Regions from separate parts of the Homo sapiens genome. Here region 1 is linked to region 2. Evidence: promoter capture Hi-C in 16 types of primary human blood cells and fetal thymus (Javierre and others, 2016). All regions are on one chromosome and are shown on one strand. Each heading gives the region's core, a stretch centred on a gene start or on the middle of the fragment in contact. The rest is flanking DNA. Distances are from core to core; before and after follow the strand shown.

Evidence for each region. The method cuts DNA at HindIII sites, captures the fragments that hold promoters and counts their contacts. A CHiCAGO score of 5 or more calls a contact.
Region 1: a contact is called between a fragment that was not itself captured here and the fragment with the promoter of BAZ2B in region 2, in 1 of 17 cell types (erythroblasts). The highest score is 5.4, in erythroblasts.

The regions. Positions count from the first base shown.
Region 1 is chr2:157,255,025-157,261,928 of GRCh38, forward strand. It overlaps GALNT5 (polypeptide N-acetylgalactosaminyltransferase 5), which reads left to right and starts at 2,681. Exons shown (of 10, transcript NM_014568.3): 1 at 2,681-4,512. The coding sequence starts at 3,059. The HindIII fragment of the contact is 2,663 bases long and covers 3,048-5,710 here.
Region 2 is chr2:159,612,323-159,619,578 of GRCh38, forward strand. It overlaps BAZ2B (bromodomain adjacent to zinc finger domain 2B), which reads right to left and starts at 4,226. Exons shown (of 37, transcript NM_013450.4): 1 at 3,920-4,226. BAZ2B-AS1 (BAZ2B antisense RNA 1) reads left to right here and starts at 2,972. Exons shown (of 2, transcript NR_110588.1): 1 at 2,972-3,131; 2 at 3,428-5,720. RefSeq lists enhancers at 2,177-2,705, 3,762-4,288, 3,916-3,995, 4,246-4,315. The HindIII fragment of the contact is 3,593 bases long and covers 1,870-5,462 here.

The sequences.
Region 1 (6,904 bases), core at 3,129-5,628, 2.4 Mb before region 2:
TTAGAGGAAATAAGAATGGCAAGAATAAAATAAAATACTCAGATTTGTTTCTTCCCCATTGCCAGAATCATGTTAGTCACTAGTTTTCTACTTGTTTTTTTGGGAAGAGCTGGTACATTGCCTCCCACATGCATCCGACACTCCTATTACAGCAAAGTATTAGCAACAATATGAATGGCTAACATTTAAAGAGTACCTTCAATATAACAATAACTTTAACCATTTTTAAATATTCTCACATTAATCTGCAAAGCAGAATTTTTTTTTATTGCTCAGTAACCACATAAAATTAACTAGCCTGCAAGATCATACAGCTAGAGAGCAGTATTGTGTGATATTGAAGCACACGGACTACAGTCGTGTATTCAAGACCCAACCCCTCCAATCTCTACCAGAAGTTGCTTTACCTCTCTAAGGTTTCATTTGCTGACTACAAAATACATATTGTAATTTACTCCTTCACATTAGATTCTTGTGAGGATTGAGTGAGATAGTCAATGGAAAGAACTTAGCAAAGTGCTTGAGATATATATATGAATTTGGAATCTCTCCTTCCCCTCCCAAGTCATTGGGAACATAAGTTTACCTCAAAGCATGGAAGCTAGACCCTCCCCACACTAGAGTAATGAACAGCAGTGTTGTCCACAAATCACTCAGAGTTCCTCAGAGAGAAGGACAGTGGTCCCGAGAAGTGCTTCTCAAACTCTATGGACAATCTTTACAACTGGCAATGTCAAAATGTGTATTCTGATTTAGTTGTTATGGGAATGCATAGATTTTATTAGACTGTACTTTAGACAGGGAAGGAATGTCACACAAGTTGTAGACTGTATTGGCCAGGATTTTTCAGAGAAACAGAACCAATAGGATTCATAGAGGTAGATAAGTGAGTTGCAGTTTATTACAGGAATTGGCTCATGTGGTTATGGAGACTGAGAAACCTCAGTCCAGGCCACCTGCAAGCTGGAGAACCAGGAAAGCCAGTAACATGGCACATTCTGAGTCCAAAGGCCTGAGAACCAGGGAAGCCAATAACATCACTCTCAGTCTGAGGTCAAAAGCCTGAGAACCTAGTGAGGGATGTGGAGGTTGTGGGGGCAGACTGGTACAAGCCCCAGAGGCCAAAGCCAGAGAATCTAAAGTTCTAGTCCAAAGGCAGAAGAAGAAAGATGTCCCAGCTCACTAACAGAGACAGAATCCACCTTTCCTCTGCCTTTTTTTCTATCTGGGCCCTCAACCAATTAGTGGTGCCTGCCCACATTGGGTGAGGGCATCTCCTCCCCACTCAGTGCACTGAGTCAAATGCCAATCTCTTCTGGAAACACCCTCACAGATATACCTAAAAATAATGCTTTACTGGTTCTCTGGGTGTTCCTTAGCCCAGTCAAGTAGACACCTAAAATTAAATGTCTCATAGGCAATGTTCAAAAACCAAAAACAAACAAACAAAAAATTGAGACTTTTTTTCTAGACCAGTGTTTCTCAACTTTAGCTGCACATTTGAAAGACCTGGGAAGCTTTGTAAAAAAAAAAAAAAAAAAAAAAATATATATATATATATATATATATATATATATATATATATATATTTAATACAATATCAGCCCAAATGTCATCTCCACCTCCTCTCTCATCAATTGACCAGAGTTTTGGGGATCTTGTTTCAAGTGGTTCTAATGAAAAGCCTGTGGCGGAACTGCTACCCTACCAGTCAACCAGCATCACTCAAAATCTGGTCCAAGTCCTGGTGTGGTCCTGAAACTGTTGCTTGCTGGTTTAAGACGAGATAAGTACTGAAACTGAGAGTAAGTGTATCTTAATCTGTTCAGGCTACTATAGAAGAATAACATAGACTAAGTGACTCATAAACAACAGAAACTTATTTCTCACAGTTCTAGAGACTGAGAAGTCAGAAATCAAGGCACCAGCAGATTCGTTGACTGGTGAAGGCCCATTTCCTGGTTCATAGATGGCACCTTCTCATTATGTCTTCACTTTGTGGAATGGCAAGGCAATAGGGCCTCTTTTTTAAGGGTGCTGATCCCATTCATGAGGGCTCTATCCTTATAATGAAATCACCTTCAAAAGCCCTACCTCCTAATACTATCACATTTATGATTAGGTTTCAACATATGAATTTTGGGTGGACATAAACATTCAGACCATAACAAAGTGTTTAGAAACTTTTATAGCAGTATGACAAATTAAGTTTATTTGTAATCAAATGTAATAATAAAAACAGATGGATTAGTGAAAAAAAAATAGTTGGCTTACAAAGAAATACATTGAAACCCCTTGAATGAATGATCTAAATAATTAAACATATACATCTCTGGAAGTGAGGATATACCAGGCCCCTTCTTTAAGCTGTTATGTCTTAAAGCTGAAATGTTAACTTCAGTGATAAATTCCTCAGGCAGAGCATTGGCACCTGGCTACAACAGGGTTAATGAGCAGGAGTAGGGTAGGTGGGGTCACAAACCAGGAACACATGCCCTCCAAGTTAGATAGCTTTTTTTCCTCTTTAATTGCCGTTTAAACACACATGCTCTCACATAACACAGAAGGTGAGAGCTGAATGAAGTTTTCTGGGTAATGGCATGAAATGTTTTCCTTATGAGAAGTGGTGTTGAGTTACAGCGTGCAGACGGAGAACGGGGAGGAGAGAAACGGCAGTCTCAATCTGGCCCCCACCTTTTCTTGGGCTTGTAGGAAGGTGGACATGGGCTCCCGGAGACAAGACAAGTGATATGTTGAACTGTTCGGTGGCTGGAATCAACTGCTCCTGGAGTGACCTAAGGCCAGTGTTTATCAGAACTTAGCCAGGGCCAGCCAAGCAGGCACAGATGCTCTGCTATGAAATGCCACGCAGGCAGAGACTGACAAGCGGTAGGAACTGAGCTTTCCCCTTGGACTGCTGCTTCCTGCTGTGTTCAGGGGAGGGGGTCACTTTCTGGCAACTCTGCTGCTGCTGCTGCTGCTGCTGCTACTTCAGCTTCCTCTCCACTCAAGGTAAGCAGGCTAAGGGAGGGCAGGCTGCTAGGGAAAGCTTTGTACCATGAACAGGATCCGAAAGTTTTTCCGAGGAAGTGGGCGAGTCTTGGCATTTATCTTTGTAGCTTCTGTCATCTGGCTCCTCTTTGACATGGCAGCTCTCCGCCTCTCATTCAGTGAGATCAACACTCGGGTCATCAAGGAAGACATTGTGAGGAGGGAGCGGATAGGATTCAGAGTTCAGCCAGACCAAGGAAAAATTTTTTACAGCAGCATAAAAGAGATGAAACCTCCCCTAAGGGGACATGGGAAAGGGGCATGGGGCAAAGAGAATGTTAGAAAAACTGAGGAGAGTGTGCTCAAGGTTGAGGTGGACTTGGACCAAACCCAGAGGGAAAGAAAAATGCAGAATGCCCTGGGAAGGGGCAAGGTTGTGCCGTTGTGGCATCCTGCACATCTGCAGACCCTCCCTGTGACTCCTAACAAGCAGAAGACAGACGGGAGAGGCACCAAACCTGAAGCCTCCTCTCACCAGGGGACACCAAAGCAAACGACAGCTCAGGGGGCTCCAAAGACCTCATTCATAGCAGCAAAAGGAACTCAGGTAGTCAAAATATCAGTACACATGGGACGTGTCAGTTTAAAACAGGAGCCCCGGAAGAGTCATAGTCCCAGCAGTGACACATCAAAACTAGCAGCTGAAAGGGACTTGAATGTGACCATCAGTCTTAGTACTGATAGACCAAAGCAGCGATCACAGGCAGTAGCAAACGAGAGGGCACACCCTGCCAGCACAGCAGTGCCGAAGTCTGGGGAAGCCATGGCCTTAAACAAAACTAAGACTCAGAGCAAAGAAGTCAATGCAAATAAACACAAAGCCAATACGAGTCTTCCTTTTCCTAAGTTCACTGTCAATTCAAATCGCTTAAGGAAGCAATCTATTAATGAGACACCTTTGGGAAGTTTGTCAAAGGATGATGGAGCTAGAGGGGCTCATGGGAAGAAACTCAATTTCTCTGAAAGCCATCTTGTGATTATAACCAAAGAGGAAGAGCAAAAGGCAGACCCCAAAGAGGTCTCTAATTCTAAAACCAAAACAATATTTCCTAAAGTATTGGGTAAAAGCCAAAGTAAACACATTTCCAGGAATAGAAGTGAGATGTCTTCCTCTTCACTTGCTCCACATAGAGTGCCACTGTCCCAAACTAACCATGCTTTAACTGGAGGGCTAGAGCCAGCAAAAATCAACATAACTGCCAAAGCCCCCTCTACAGAATACAACCAGAGTCATATAAAAGCCCTTTTACCTGAAGACAGTGGAACGCACCAGGTGTTAAGAATTGATGTGACACTTTCTCCAAGGGACCCCAAAGCTCCAGGGCAGTTTGGGCGTCCTGTAGTTGTCCCCCATGGAAAGGAGAAGGAGGCAGAAAGAAGATGGAAAGAAGGAAACTTCAATGTCTACCTTAGCGATTTGATCCCAGTGGATAGAGCCATTGAAGACACCAGACCTGCTGGGTAAGACCTATTTCTCTTCTCTTTCCTCAACCCCAAGTGCTTTGGCTGTTATGTAAAGAGGATTTATTGCTAGATAATTCTGTGTGATTTTTGGTCACCTAGAGAATTAAAGAAACATTAATCATTGGATATCATTCAAATATTTCACCAGCTACAGAGACAAAAATTCTCTTATTAGCAGTTGCAGAGTTCTTGTTCTCTGAGACTTTGGTCCCTACCATTAGCTCATGTTCAATTTTCTTCCCTCTGTTGAAAACCTATTAAAATGATTAGATGAACTCAGTTCATAATAACGTGTATATAAATGGTAGAGCTTAAAGTGTAATTCCATTAGAATAGTGACAATGAAGTGAATTCCCAATTTTGGAACTTTTCATTATTAGCAAGTTTGTCAGGAATATATTTGGGAAAGAAGCACACAGAAGGACTCTTCTAGGCCTCCCTGGAATCATATCTTAACCAGCAGAATTCTGCCTAATCATAAGTAATGATAAGCAGGATAGCAAGAGAAGTGACTTTACTCCCTAAAATTTAATCTCCTTTATAGGTGGAGATGGTAGATATTTCAGGAGATCAGTTACATAGGAATCATAATGTTGGAAAAAGTCAATCAGTCCATGACCAGCAAACACCTACAGGAGGTATAAAAAGCATAATAATAATCACTTATATTTGTAGACATTCACTATTTACAAAGAGCCTGCATACACATAGATGAACTCCATATGAGCCCTGCAAAGGAGGAGGCAGTCATTATGGTTCAAATTAACAAGCTGGCGAGGGCGCTCAGAAGTTACAACACTTTCTCAAGGTAATGCAGTTCTAAAGCTGCCCAATGGGCCTTCAGTAACCAGTCCTTCAAAAAGTTAAATTCCTATAACTATATCACCAGATGTGGATCAAAACATAGATATTTAATCTGATTCAAATATAATTGGGTTCCTGGCATTTTTTTTCTTGGCCCACTGATAAGTGAAGGTACTCAACAGCCGTATGTTCAATATCTGTTAACTCAGTTCCCTAAGTCAAACAATATTTGCCAGGAAGTTGGATTGGGGAATGTCAAGATTGAGACTTAGCACATGTGGCATGTAAACAATGGCCTTGTTTGGCTTCTGTAGAAAATTCTTCTTTGTGATCTAGGTAGTCAGCATTACATTTTAGTCAGTGTTACTAGGAGGAAGGCAGATACAGGAGAAGCTTTATCCACATTAGAAAGAAGAGTCTCTTCATTGTGATGTCGGCTACAACCAGGTCGTTTTCCATCTCTTAGCCATCAGCAAACAGCTATCAGCCATGCACTGCTTATACCAAGCACTGTGCCATTCACGCTTCTCACCCTGGTGATAATCACAGTCTTGAGGAGAATGCAGACATACTCAAAGATGAGGAAACTGAGGCCCTGGGATGCTAGATTGCCTGTGGTCACAAAGCTAGTCATTGTAGAGAAATGATTAAAATTCATGCTCAAAATTATTCTGCACTCTCTTCCATCTCTTGCCAATCTCCCCTCAAAAAGGATCCTAAAAATTGTGTTGGCCCAGCTCTAATCTAAAGTCCTGTGTATCACAGGATTACACATGCCAGCTTTGAACACAAAGTGCAAGGAAATGAAGTAGCCGTTAAAGCAGTTTCATTTTAACATGCCCTTATTGACCTGGCAGGCTGCTAGGGAGTCTGGGGAGGAATTAGACACTGCACAGAAGCACAAGCTCCAGTTCCAAACCAGAGAAAAGGCACATGCGTGGCGGGGGTGGGGGTGCTCAAAGCAAGTAATAACGATGTTATCACTAGTGTGGCTCATTGAAAGCTCGGGGACTCCCAGTGCTTCTTAGTTTCTATACTTTGTTCTGTAGAAGTTAAGCATTGCAGCCCAGGAAAGTTACAGTCAGGCTCTGTCTTCTGAAGGAGGTTGTCCCAACTGTAGGAAAAATTGACACATGTGCTTGAGAGGATGAGTCAGAGAGCATGTGGCCAGGCCTCCTCCCTCTTATCACATAACCCACCTTGGCTAAATATAGGTGTGTCTCAAGCTGCCTGGCGGATGCTACGCTCCACTCAGGGGTCTACCACCAGGGATCCTGGACCTGGGGCCTCCCAAAGTATTTTTCAGTCCTTTTGTAGTCCTCTTCTTTGAAAGAGGATAAATCATTTTTTGTTCTTTTACCCAAACACCTTGACTATAAATATGTGTAAATTATGTATTCATATAGATAAAGGTTAAAGAAAATACAATCAAAAAACATTTGATTCATCAGTTTGGCAAGATTTGGAGTGTTTTTTGTTTTTGTTTTTTTAAATTTGGCTTTATTTATTTTCAGCCTGGCTCAAAAAGCGTTTGAGGTAGCTGCTTACAGGAATGCATGCAATAAGATTTTTTAAGATAATAAGT
Region 2 (7,256 bases), core at 2,976-5,475:
AAATACTTAATTTTATGTAACCAAAAAAACTCTTAAAATACCTAACTAGGTAACTTAATTAATCCCCCAGGAAATCAAATATATTAATAATCACTAAAACTTGATGACGTAATTCCTCTTAAGGGTCAAAATCACCATATTAATTTGTGCTAAATCATATCTCTTCTTTTGGTAGTTCTACTCAGAAACTACAACTTAAGATCCCTTCTCTGAGAAACCTTTAAACCTAAAAGTAATCAAGTTCCAAAATATACTTTCACTAATTCAAGGAGATAAGACAGAAATCCTGAACTTTCATGCAACTGTGATATCCTACATCTTGTATAGTAACACAAAAGTAGCAACAAAGACATTAACAATTGCAGTTCAAGCTGGGAATGACTGTTCTGTTTCAATTCAATGACACCACTAATGGCTTCTTAGCAGCTCCATGAAATCAACCAGCTGTCAAGTTGATGCATCAGAAGGAACAGTTATGCACTCCCATAAGAAAAAGCAACACATCAGGATGTTTGGCAAAACATCTGCTCCTTTACACTGCAGTTCTATAATAAACATGCAAACAAAGAAATGGGAGAAAGGGCAACAGAATTAAAATTCTAAGGTTTCCATTACAGTCTTATGTGCATTTTAAATGAATGGCTTATAAAAAATAAAAACAAATTTCTACCAAGTTGAATACTTTAAGCTATTCCCAATTTTTTGAAAATGCTAAATATAATTACTCAGAGACTGTTCTAGAAAGAAAAAACCTGCATAAGAATCCATCTATTCTAAAAATTGTAAATAAACAATATTCAAGTAAAATCAGTATCATAATGTTATGTATAAAACTCAAAAATTAAAACTAAAATATATCCTTCCTTCATTTAATAAGTATTTCATAAATGATGCCAGCAGTATTCCAATAAATGCATTTCCAAGACTGAAGAGTTTAGAAGTATTTTTTCATTAGTGTTTGTAAGAGTAAATGGTACTACAATTCGGCACTAGTTTAACATGTGAGAACAGTGAAGCTACTATTATCTGGATTTTAAAATATGTACCCATTCCTGTTTCTCTCCAACCATTATAAGAACACAATATTAAGTTCTCATAAATAACTTTGTATTTTTAAAGCATACAATCTGATTTTCTAAAAAAAAAAAAAAAAAAGACTCTTCATCATCGTAGGCTTAAAATAATTTTAAATTCAACCACTTGTTTCAAATACTTGTAAAAATTACTTTTTTCTATCTGAACCATACGAGTGTCTTAATGTTGTCCAAATTACTGATTATGCAGCAGAGTGACAATAATATGTACAGTGTTTACAATAGGTGTGAGACATCAAATGTACTTAACTACCATTTTCTTAAACTGCTTATCCTCTGTTGCTTGCCATTTATAATCTGCCAAATCTTCTAGTCCTTTGTTGCATGTATAATTTAGAACCATCTGTTCTATGTGCTTTTAACTATTTAAACATTTTTCACCTACCTACAATTCACATAAATGGCAGACACTCAACTCAGTCAAGCTTTCTATATAGCATATTACATGAAGCAAATTCCTGGATAAATAGATAACACCAAAGAAGACTGCTACAGAAATAAAAACTTACCATATAGAACATAAATTTCTGTGTGTTACACAAACCTTTTCAATGTATTCAGAATTGTTTCTATTAGCTTTTTTTAAGTTAATTGTAGTCAGTGTTTTTCCCTCAACCCAGAAGACAAAGAGAATGCAAATTAAATACAGACAGTTTCATGTCCTTGTTAGAAGAGATGTAAATATGCTGACTGAAAATGACTACAGGAGACAGAATTCCACTTTCCCATTCAATATACAGTGCCTCTTATTTATATACTAGTCAGTGTATCATTAAGCTTGGTCATGTGACCAAACCAACTTTTGTGAGGCGAAAAACTATGTTAGACAAGCAAATTAAAACAGTGCTAGTTTTTGTTTATCTGTTCATAATGGCTGACAAAGAGTTTATAGCTAGCGATTATAAAATAACTTTTAAAATCAATTCTGCCTCTTAAATACTCAATAATTGTTTGACTTAATATCTGCTACTAAATTTTAAAGTATCCATTATCTTAAGGTATTTTCCATAGTCATTTCTTTTCAAAATGTAAATAAATAATAGAAAAAGAAAACCCCAGAACATTTTATTAGAAACGGGGAGCCAGATAATCTAAAATAACCATACATAAATATTAACCAAGCTAATTTTCAAAAAATCCATAAGGGAGAGTGGAGCAAATAAGAAAGGGAATATACTGACTACAGATAACAGTTGAAACCTTTAAATTAAAAAAAAAAGTACACAAAAACCAGATAAATAACAAATGACGCACAAGTTTTTTACCATTTTTTGCATATAATCTTCCACCTGTTACCAAAACATACAATACGCAGACTTCGTATACTGATTTTGAGAGCAAAACACAAAAATAAGCCACACAACTTATCAGTAACCTGTAAGTTACACAATCCTATAAAACAGGAGAAAAATTAAGCAAAAAATTTACTCTTGGGAAAATTTCTCCGTAAAGTTTACATGACGTCACTGGGCCCCCTGAACATTCCCTAAACTTTGAGACTTATCCAGACACACTTCCTAATACTTCTTTCCTTTCCTCAAAAATAAAAAAGAGAGAGACTTGGGAATAAAATTGCCCAAGATGGCGAAACGCTTGTTGTTTAGAGGGCAGGAAAAAAAATGGAGGATATTGTAATATACACAAAGGGATAAATTTCAACAACTCGGCCAAGGACTGCAGCTGCTTCCCTCTTTATAAGGAAGCAACAGACAAAAGATAAATACAGAGGGAGAAAGAAAAGAAGAGAAAATCTCCCAAACAACAGAGCCAGCTCTGACTCTTCAAACACTTCCTTCCCCTTCTCAAATCCCAATTCTGGGGTTCGTGAAACTACTTAAAGGGGAGGGAGCCGCGAAAGAGAACGGGGGCTGGGGGGAGGGGTAGCGACAAGAAGATTAAAAGAGGGAAGCAGAGGAGTTGGGAGCTGGCGGTCGTTCCCGGGGAAGAACTGCTAAAACATGAGACCAAGGCACAGACCTTACTGTATGAGAAGCAATGCTCCTCAAACCTTCTGCGTGCTGACATAGACCTTCCCAGGTATCCAGATCTTTTCCCAATCCCACCTGCCCCACCCCCACCCCCGCTCATCTTCAGTAAACTCAGAGCCTCCAGCTACACACGGGAGAGCTAGAGGCCCAAGCCGGGGAGTGGGGGTGGCAGACGCAGCTCGTCAGTCCGACAGGGAAGAGGGGGCGGAGGCAAAAAAGGGCAGCAGGAGGCGGACGGGGGTGGGGGGTGATCCAGAAACTACCCCGGCAGGGAGTGGGGGAGCAGCGGATATTCCGGGGTAGGAACGGCCATCGCAACGCTGACAGAGGTTGTTTTTTAAGAAGCAAAACTGTTGGCGGCGACCTGAGCGCTGGAAGCCGAAGGGGAAGAGGAAGGAGACGCGAAGCCAGGGCGGCCGGCACAAAGGCGGCGGACTCGCGGCGGCAGCGCCTGCCCGGCCGGGAGCACAACCCACGGCCCTACTCCAGCGAAGTCCCGCACCGGCTTCTAGGAATAAAGTTTACGTTCTCCTGAGGCCGCACCCCCCACCTCCCACCCAGGACGGCACATCTCCGTGTCCTCCTCCCCCAAACTCCACTCGGGACCCCGAGAACCACCCCAGCCTTCCGGCCACCACAACAAAGAGCCGCACCGACCGGCGAGGATAAACAGCGGCGGAGGGCGAGAGGGCGGCGGGGCGAGCGCCTCCACGCAGCAACTCCGGAGTCCCCCGCTTGCCCGAGCGCAGTTTCTCCGCTGCTGTTTCCACCGGCTTTGTAACACTGGGAATTTACATCCTCACCCGCACCCCTCACGCCCGAGGATTTTAAACTCACCTTTACTCTCGAACTGAGAGTTGCGGTAGATGGGATTTTTGCCTTTTCCCCAGATGGTTGAAGGTTAAGATTTTTGGAAACCCCACCACCTCCTTATTTCTATTATTATTTCTGCAAGAAAAGTATAAAGAGAGTTGTAGTGGAGGTGAGATTTGTGATCGGGAAAGCCTTCGACTCCCTCCTTCTCCGTCTTCCGCCTCTCTCTCTCTGATTAGTTCCTATCCAGCAGCAGATTGAAGCAGGAGATGATTCTTCTCAAGGTTTGTTCAGCAGCTTCACTTCTAGGCGAAGGCTTCATGAACCAAGTGACGTCAACCAACAAGGCTTCTCTCTCTCTCCTCTCTCTAACAATGAAAGTTGCTGTTAACAAGGGAAAAAAAGAGAGAGAATTGTTTATACCATTTCAGTTCCAATAATAAATGACCTATCAGCTCCTAAAGGAGCCAAGGGAGGGGGTTGCTTCTTCTTTCCAAGAATACTGTAGCTTTGAGTTTGCACCGTTCCTTGTCCCAGGAAAAAGTTAAGAAACTTAAAATGTTTTGTTTTGCTTTTAAAGAAGACAGGACAGAAAACGGGATTTAAAACTTAGTTTTTAAAAAAACAAAAGCTACAGAGTAGGGAGCATAGGTCAACCATCTCCACCTAAATTTTTTTTGTTCCTAAACTCAGAATTCTACAACCCAACTAAATTAATATGCCAAGATTTTGCGGATGTTAAAACTCAAAAAAAGCAGTATGCAAGACGGTCCCGGGGTAAAATTCTACTGCCTTTCCACGGACAAGTTAAACTGGCTGTAATGTTTATGCACTAAGTTAAAATAAAATTTAAATAAAAGACGTTAAAATAGTCGTTTTAAAGTTATATGCACACACTGTAAAAGGTAATCTCGATAGCTTTTTTTCAAGTTTCTGAGAGATTAGAAAAAAAGCATAGCAAATTGTAGGCACTGAACACTTTTTAAAAATCAAGTTATGAGTAAGACTGGTAGCCCTTTGCTCCTTTAAACTACAAATGCAGTCATATGCTATGGTCTACCCCCAGAATCTCTTCCAACTTTGTTTTTACCCTTCCACTCCCCCAACCCCAATTCCCAAATCCTGCAACCAATCAAGTTAAACTAAAGATACAATAGGCCCCATTCCCTCCCGCACCCCATCCTATAGATTCCTAAAAACAATTTTTTTAAAAGCCTTAATCTTGATAACACTTTATTAGCCAAGAAGATACGTATTTTTTTTTTTAGAAGTTCGTTGAGGTACCGTTTTTTCCCTCCAGAACACAAGAAAGTCTCAAAGTTCATATAATTAAAAATTGCATAATTTAATTTTCAGGATGAAGAGTAAGTAAAAATTAAGCTATCGGAGAATAATTTGATCATCTATGTATATTTTATACATATGTGGATAAATGTATCTTAAAAGATGCTATTGTTTTATGTTTCCTCTTCAGCCACTGGCTGTGATTTTAATTGTGCTGGAGGATCTTCATTAGTATTAACACATGGGGAGATTTCACAAAGCTGCTTCATTAGGAAAAAAAAAAAGCTTGGCAGACTCGGTCTTTTTGCATGCACTGAGAATGTCAGCCTTACCTCGGTCATTTGTAACATAATAAGTGCAAGTACAATGATTGCAATGCAGGAGCACTGGGGGAAGGGCAGAAATACTGCCTGTCTAATAGGGATATCTGAAAAGAAGGCTGCTCATTACAGAGTAAAATGTATGCTAAAAATTAGTGAAGATGATGTCTCAGGAGACTGATGCTAAATAAATTAATGTGCTGATATGTTTTTAATTATTATTTTTGTAGTAGTTTATTTCATTCTCAGGATTCACATTGAGCAGCAAAGCTGTGCTAGCACTTATTGATTTTTTTTCCCTGCCACATTCCCGGAATACAGATTTTAATCATTTCACTACACCACACTCAGTAATTTCATTAAAAACTGGAATCTTCCATCCCCAGAAAAGCATTTAATTTCAATGACATACAATTTCTCTTTTAGCAGCAAACTGTCTCTACAGTAAAAACTGGCCTAAGGTTCAAATGCATAATTTAATCCTGAGTTTTCCATGCTCTGCATTCCTTTCAAGCTATAATTTGAGTAACTACCTAATAACTGTAATAAGGACAATAATTTCCTTATAATATATTATTAACTCATATTTAATTAACTCGGAGGCCAAGCTCTGTACATGTATGACTGGGTCAACAGTTCTATAATCTCAAAATTTACTAATAATGTTCCAGAAGAAAAATATAGATTAAAATATAAGTATGAATGCACTTAGTATCTAAGACTTCTATCCCAAGTCACATACAAAAAAGTTAATGCATTGTTCTATAATGGTGGTCATTAAATAAATAATATTTTTAAGTATGTGGAACTAAAAAATGGAATACACTGATATTTCTATGCGTAAAGTATTGAATATTAATGTTTTAACAATCTATTACTGACACTTTACCTAATCATTAGCATTACTGTTGAAAATATTTAATTTTGAAAAGATAAGGAAAAAGTGCTAGATTCAAGTTATCTTGATTTTCATAAAGAATTCTCCCAAAATATACCTCGCTTGAAATAAAGTTAAGTGGCACACTGTAACTCGAATAATTAAGAATACATCCTTTGCTTAAATACTTCAAACAATATACTGCAAAGCATGGTTCAATTTTTGGTTCCAATAATATTTTGAAATATTGGGATTGCAGATGCCACACTGGTTTCCCAAACAATGGTTTCATAATGATATGTAATTTACATTGCCTGGATTTTAGAAAAGAAACCTGTGAAAAAAAATAATTTAAAGTAATAAAATTCATTAATTTAAATTGTGGAAATATGTCTAATCTACAGAAAAAACAATATATGTAATGAAAGTGATTAACTACTATATAAAAACTCCAGTCATTCCCCTGAGTAATTTTAGAATCATAATTCAAAAATTTTTATAAGAATATGTATATGCAATTTCAAGCTGGAGCCATATACAACCCAAAGTTGTCTTTTACTTGATTGCACAAGGAAGTAACTTATAACAAAATACATCTTATCATCATCAAAAGGTTGGAAAAAAGGGGAAAAGGGGTGACAGTGAAAACCTTGATTTTAATGTCTTCTAAAGACATTTTAAAATATATTTTTATTATGAAGGGCTCGTTATATACTTCAGGAAATATGTGACATTCCCAATGGTGAAGTTATATGGAAATCAATAATTAACAAAATAGTTGCTAAATGAAAGACTGACATAGGTATCTCAAATTCATAAATATATTTCTCTATTTCAATAAAAATAATAAAAACTTTAATTTTATATTAAAATATATATT